2 separate regions of the Homo sapiens genome follow, and region 1 is linked to region 2. The links are contacts of gene promoters, found by promoter capture Hi-C in human tissues and cell types (Jung and others, 2019). All regions are on one chromosome and are shown on one strand. Each heading gives the region's core, a stretch centred on a gene start or on the middle of the fragment in contact. The rest is flanking DNA. Distances are from core to core; before and after follow the strand shown.

Region 1 (3,228 bases), core at 388-2,887, 450 kb after region 2:
AAAATAATAATAATAATGGGGAACAAGGAGTGAGATGATAGAAGTCATTTCAAAGTTTGAGAAGTTATATAGTATCCAAAAGCCATACACATTCCATTGATAGGTATGGTTATATAAGAAACTATATATATTTTTCTTTCCAATAATGTAAATTCGTTTTTCCAATAGCTACTAGGCTGCTAAGACAATATAGTTATGTTGCTTGGATACAGCTATGTCATCAAAGCAACTGCTAGTTACTCCTTTTGGCTTAAGAGCACAACAAAACTCCTCAGACACCAAGGGCACTATATACCAGGAAGGCTTGTGAACCTCTGTCCTAGCGAGTTATTTTATGTGGTAGTTTCCACTCTAAGATACAAAGGTGAAAGCTGTTCAAGGTAATGTTTTATGGAAAATGTAGCACTTTTTTTTTTTTTTTTGGGTGGTGCGGAGAAGGAGTCTCACTCTGTCGCCCAGGCTAGAGTGCAGTGGCGCTATCTGGCTTACTGCAACCTCTGCCTTTCATGTTCAAGCAATTCTCCCGCCTCAGCCATCCTAGTAGCTGGGATCACAGGTGTGCACCACCATGCCCAGCTAATTTTTACATTTTTAGTAGAGACGGGATTTCACCACGGTGGTTGGCCAGGCTGGTCTTGAACTCCTGACATCAGGTGACCTGCTCACCTCAGCCTCCCAAAGTGCTGAGATTACTGCCATAAGCCACCGCACTTAGCCAGCACTATTTTTTTTTTTTTTTTTTTTTTTTTTGAGTCGGAATCTCACTCTCTCACCCAGGCTGCAGTGCAGTGGCACGATCTCAGCTCACTGCAACCTCCACCACCGGGTTCAAGGATTCTTGTGCTTCAGCCTCCCAAGTAGCTGGGACTATAGGAGCGCGCCACCATGCCTGTCTAATTTTTGTATTTTTAGTAGCGATGGGGTTTCACCATGTTGTCCAGGCTGACTTCAAGTGATTTACCTGCCTTGGCCTCCCAAAGTGCTGGGATTATAGGCATGAACCACCACGCATACCCACTTAGCACTTTTCTATCAAGCAACTCTTGTGGCTTTCCACATTCCGTCTTTTGAGCACTCTTTTTTTAAAAAAATTACTTTCTTGCTTTGGTTTTAGACCCTGAAGCATTCTTCTTTTAACATCCCCAGGAGATAAAAGAATTTTTCTTTGTTCAAGAAAGACTCAAGGTCAAATATCACTCTCTCACTGCCTCCATAACAAATTTTAGACTCTCAGGACTCCATTATCATGTTGTCAAGTATGCAGAAGCTAGTTTAGATTATATAATAAAACAAACTGGAAGTACAGAGACATGGTTAGTTACTTTGCAATAAAAGGACCGCTGGAGAAATTATTGTCCCTTTTTGTGAAGTGAAAAAAAATAAGCCTTCTGTCAGAAATGCTGGGTTCCAATCCTATTTTGGCTTTTTTTTTTTTTTTGGGGGGGGAGACACAGCCTCTCTCTGTTGCCCAGGCTGTAGTGCAGTGGCGTGATCTCGGCTTACCGCAACCTCCACCTCCACCTCCCCCTCCCCCTCCCCCTCCCAGCCTCCCAAATAGCTGGTATTACAGGCATACGCCACCTCGCCTGGCTAATTTTGTATTTTTAGTAGAGACGGGGTTTCTCCACGTTGGTCAGACTGGTCTCAAACTCCCAGCCCCAGGTGATCCATCAGCCTTGGCCTCACAAAGTGCTGGGATCATGGGCTTGAGTCACTGCGCCTGGTCTGCAGTTTTTGTGTTGTGTTTTGAGACGGAGTTTCACGCTGTTGTCCAGGCTGGAGTGCAATGGCGTGGTCTGGGCTCACTGCAACCTCCACCTCCTTATTTCAAGCGATTCTCCTGCTGCAGCATCCTGAGTAGCTGGGATTACAGGTGCCCATCACCACACCCAGCTAATTTTTTGTATTTTTAGTAGAGATGGGGTTTCATAATGTTTGCCAGGCTGGTCTCTGAACTCCTGACCTTAGGTGATGCACCCATCTCAGCCTCCCAAAGTGCTGGAGATTACAGGCGTGAGCCACCGCACTCGGCCCTGTTTGTAGTTTTAATGTGTTAGCCAACTTGTATAAAGGGTCAGCCAGTAAATATTCAGCTTTGCAGGCCACAAATATCTCTTATCTCATTCACATTTTTTTTTTTTTTTTTTTTGGTCTCATTCTGTTGCCTAGGCTAGAGTGCAGTAGTGTGATCTTGGCTCACTGCAACTTCCGCCTCCTGTGTTTTTTTAAAAATATACATTTAAAAAATGTAGGAATCATTTTTGGTTCATGGCCTAACCACAGGTTTTGATAATTTAAATTTGTTTTATCTGGGACATGATCATATAGCTTGCTAAGGCTTTTTTTCTTTTTCTTTTTCTTTTTCTTTTTTGAGACAGAGTCTTGCTCTGTCACCCAGACTAGAGTGCAGTGGCGTGATCTTGGCTCGCTGCAACCTCTACCTCCTGGGTTCAACTGATTGGCCTGGCTCAGTCTCCCAAATAGCTGGGACTACAGGTACGTGCCACCACGCCCAGCTAATTTTTGCAATTTTAGTAGAGACGGGGTTTTACTATATTGGCCAGGCTGGTCTCGAACTCCTGACCTCGTGATCCGCCTGCCTCTGCCTCCCAAAGTGCTGGGATTACAGGTGTGAACCAGCACTTTTTTTTTTTTTTTTTTTTTTTGAGACCGAGTTTCACTCTTGTTGCCCAGGCTGGAGTGCAATGGCCTGATCTCGGCTCACCGTAACCTCCACTTCCCAGGTTCAAGCGATTCTCCTGACTCAGCCTCCTGAGTAGCTGAGATTACAGGCATGCACCACCACGCCTGGCGAATTTTTTTTTTTTTTTTTTTTTTTTTTTTTGAGATGGAGTCTTGCTCTGTTGCCCAGGCTGGGGTGCGGTGGCCTGATCTCAGCTCACTGCAAGCTCCGCCTCCTGGGTTCATGCCATTCTCCTGTCTCAGCCTCCCGAGTAGCTGGGACTACAGGCGCCTACCACCATGCCTGGCTAATTTTTTGTATTTTTAGTAGAGACAGGGTTTCATCGTGTTAGCCAGGATGGTCTCAATCTCCTGACATTGTGATCCTCCTGCCTCGGCCTCCCAAAGTGCTGGGATTATGGGCGTGAGCCACTGTGCCCGCCTGAATTTTTTGTAATTTTAGCAGAGACGAGTTTCTCCGTGTTGGTCAGGCTGGTCTCGAATTCTCGACCTCAGGTGATCCACCTGCCTCGCCTCCCAAAGTGC
Region 2 (3,388 bases), core at 199-2,698:
AAACAGATTTACTAAAGGAGTGTGGGGGCACAGCCATAATCCCCATCCAACCTCCAACTCTCCTTCCAATCCAAACTGTGATGAAGCCAGAAGTCAGGAAGAAGGCAGCCTCCCCCACCCTCCTACCCCAGCATTCCAGGCCATTCTCCAGTCCCCTTCCCCAGTGATGACATCTGACGTTTTTTCATCTCAAAGCTCCCAGGAATTAAGAAGGAAAATTCAAAGTCACATAGTATGGCGAGCTCCCCCTCTCTGCCCCCCAACACAGCCCTACCCCAGGCTACTGACAGAGGCCCTGAGAGGGGGAAGAGCCTACTTCAGCACCCAGGCCTCCAGCCGGGGCTCTGGGGTCGATTCCACGCCCAAGCAGGGGGCCCTCCCTCTCCCCACCCACAGCCTTCCCGGGCCTGCCTGCCCTCTGCCCGGCAGGGTACCCCTGGCCTGGCTCCCCTTTCGAGCTACAGAGGCCAGTGCAAAAGCCACCCCCCCCACCCCCACCCCCTTTTGCAGCCGAACATTGCAAATCCGGATTCCTTCACAATTCAGATGGGGGGTGGGGGGTTGTGAGGATGTAGGGGAGGCGGAGGCCCTCCCCGAACAGAGATAGGAAAAGAAGGCCTCTCCTCCCCAGGATCAGAAAAATGGGGAGCCCTCTTCTCTCTACCCAGGCCTCTGGTCTTTGTTTGTGCTGGGGGGCCCCGGAAGCATCATTTGCCCAGGGCCCCCATCCCCCAAATCGGACCCCATCCCCGCCCCCAGTCGGGCCGCTGCTGTGTCAGCTGGACTGGGATAACAAAAGGCACCCCCTCCCGCGTCTCCCTTCCCCATCCGTATGCAGGAGTGGGGGCTGGGGAGAGGGTGCCCCCAGGGGTCCAAGGGGGACGCGGAATCTCACTCACCGTCGATAGCCGCCGCGACCAGAGCTGAGAGCAGGGGCAGCAGCAGGAGCAACGGCGGGGTCAGCATGGTGTGGGCTGATGCAAGCAGCAGCCCCTTCCCCTCTGGTCCTGCTACTTCTCTCCTTCACCCCCCCCAGTTGGGGGGTCCCCCTTTTCCTCCTTTCCCCCTCCTCCTTCTCTGTTCTTATTCTTTCCTTCGGCAAAGCGCACCAGGGGCGTGGGTGAAGAGGTAGAGTTCCGAGCCCCTTGGGGAGGGCCTGCTGACGGGGGTGCGCCCCCTGCCCCGAAATCCAAACCCTTCACCCCACCCCCCCGCTTCACTCCTCGCTGCTCTTTCCCCCTCCCCGGGCGAAGCTCACAGCCCCATCTCGGAGCCGCCTCCGGCTGCAAAAATGCACAATTGGGAGGAGGCGGGGAGGGGGGGTGGGGGGCGTGGACCGGGTAGGGGAGCCTTTGGAGGGGGCTTGATGGAGCTCTGGGGGCTCCCCTTGTTTCCGCCTCCTCAGTGCATGGGCCTGGAGCTCGCACCGCTGTTCCCCGGACTGAAGTGCCGAGGGGGGGGCTGATGGGGGAGAGGGAGGGGACGGGTTGAGGAGGGAGGGAGGGAAGGGGCGGGGAAAGAAAAAAGGTTGGTGGGTGGGGGGAGAAAGAGCTACGCGGCAATCCAGTGAGTGCGCATGCGCCGATTTGACGCGCTGCCCGGGGGAGGGCGACGCGGACCCGCGACAGGGTTCGGAGTTCTGGAAAGCGGTCCAAGAGTGAGGGTCCCGGGGACTCGCTGGCTAGTTTGGGGCCTGGGGCGCCCTCTCCCCTGGCTGGGCCCTCCTCCCTGGTGCTCCAGAGAGCAGAAGGGGTCGAGGGTGGGATTGGGCAGTGGGCGGAGAGCTGAGCGGCTCCCCTTTGAAACTCAGTGTCATACTCTAGGATTTCAGGCTCCCTCCGGGGGCGTCCGGGACTCAGTGGTCTGGGCCGAGGCTCGATTTTCTAGGGGAACCCTGAAGGTGCCTCCTCTGCCCGGGGTGGGGACAGGGACCGCCAGTCCGCGGGGAAGGTGCAGGGAAAGGCTGAGCTTTGATTTGGAGACTTTGGAAGACCGGACTGGGATTGGGGCCTGCGAAGGAGGGGGCGGGGTTGGGGAGGGACCGCGAGGACCCGCCCCCACCTCGCTCCCGGGCTCGGAGTAAACAGGGACACCCGAGGGGACACGCCGGAGCTTGTCCGCCCGCGTGGGGCTCGGGGATGGAGCCCACCTTAGTACCCGCCCGCCCTGCTCGCCCAGCCCTAGGCGCGGGAGGGGCAGGCCCTGGTTTGGAGGGAGGTGAGTCACCAGCGGGTGGGGTTGAGGAAAGGCCACCCCCTTTCGCCCAAGAAGTCGGGGCTCATTTATTTTTCTGTTTTTTTTTTTTTTTTTTTTTTTAATACCTTCTGACTGGCTTGCCATCAAGTTAGGGTTTTAGATTCCGAGCGCCAGGATTTGGAATAAGATGAGGGACTCTGGACCTTCGTTTCCAGGCCTCGGGTTCCAAGGAGGTGTCTGCTGAGCGCCGGACCTTTGTCCCCAGGCTCAGCCCACACGGGAATGATACTTTGCAGAAGGCAGGCGCCAGGCGGTTCCCAGGGGCCAGTGAACGTGCTTTTGGTCACTGCCCCCTTCTGGGCGGCGTTTTATGGCTGTTACCTTAGTGTCTGACTTTCTAGGTGTCTGCATGTCAGAGTTCAAGGAGCGGGGCAGACGACGTCGGCTGCCAAAAATTGACGCTGGAGAGGAGGGACTGTTCCCCCTTTTACGTTCTAGTTACGGAAAAGTCCCCACTCCAGTCTGTCCTTGGCAGAAACAGGAGCAGCACGAAGGACTTGCCTCCTAATGACAGTGAGCTCAACCTTTAGCTTCTTCCAGCCGGCTTTGCTCAGCGCGGTGGCCACCTGCCTTTAGTCTCCTGGGCTAGAAACCTCAGACTTTATGCCAACTCAAGGGGGCCTTTCCTTCCTATATCCAATCTTGCCAGCCTGTGCTCCAGGCTTGTCATTTTTTTCCTCTGAAGTATATCTCAGATTTCCTCCATTTCCACTGCCAGAGAGTTGCTCCAGGCAGGAACGGGGTCTTATTTCTCCTTTTATCCAGCTCCCATGGCCCAACACAATGTGAGACGCACTATGCGGACTCACCAAATGCCTACGAGGTTCCTCCCAGGGCCCCTCCCAGTATTGGGATCCAAGTGAAATCAGGTCGAAACAGACTTTAGACAGCTTGACAGCTTTGAGAGGAAAACGGTATCTGGAGCAACCACATGTAGCCTGAGGGCTTGAAGGGGCTTTCCTCCCTCCCCCTACCCATCTGTCAGGTGAATCTTCCAAAAACTGCTTTCCCGGTGTCTCTTCCTTGCTGGGGAACCTCTAGTGGGTGTCTATAGACCAGTCAAATGTGAACTCCTCTTCAGTCATGGCTTTCCAAAACCTGGCCTCAGTCAGCATGCACTTCTCACTTGCAA

Evidence for each region. The method cuts DNA at HindIII sites, captures the fragments that hold promoters and counts their contacts. A contact is called where the count stands out against the background at its distance.
Region 1: a fragment that was not itself captured here is called in contact with the fragment with the promoter of LRP1 in region 2 in 1 of the 25 tissues and cell types used here (hippocampus).

What each region holds. Positions count from the first base shown.
Region 1 is chr12:56,674,443-56,677,670 of GRCh38, reverse strand. All of the region lies in intron 1 of PTGES3 (prostaglandin E synthase 3), which reads left to right. Among named protein-coding and RNA genes, the nearest start is that of PTGES3, 12 kb to the left of the region's middle. The HindIII fragment of the contact is 7,635 bases long and covers 1-3,228 here.
Region 2 is chr12:57,126,543-57,129,930 of GRCh38, reverse strand. LRP1 (LDL receptor related protein 1) reads right to left here and starts at 1,448. Exons shown (of 89, transcript NM_002332.3): 1 at 900-1,448. The coding sequence starts at 966. RefSeq lists an enhancer at 1,788-2,441. The HindIII fragment of the contact is 3,919 bases long and covers 1-2,389 here.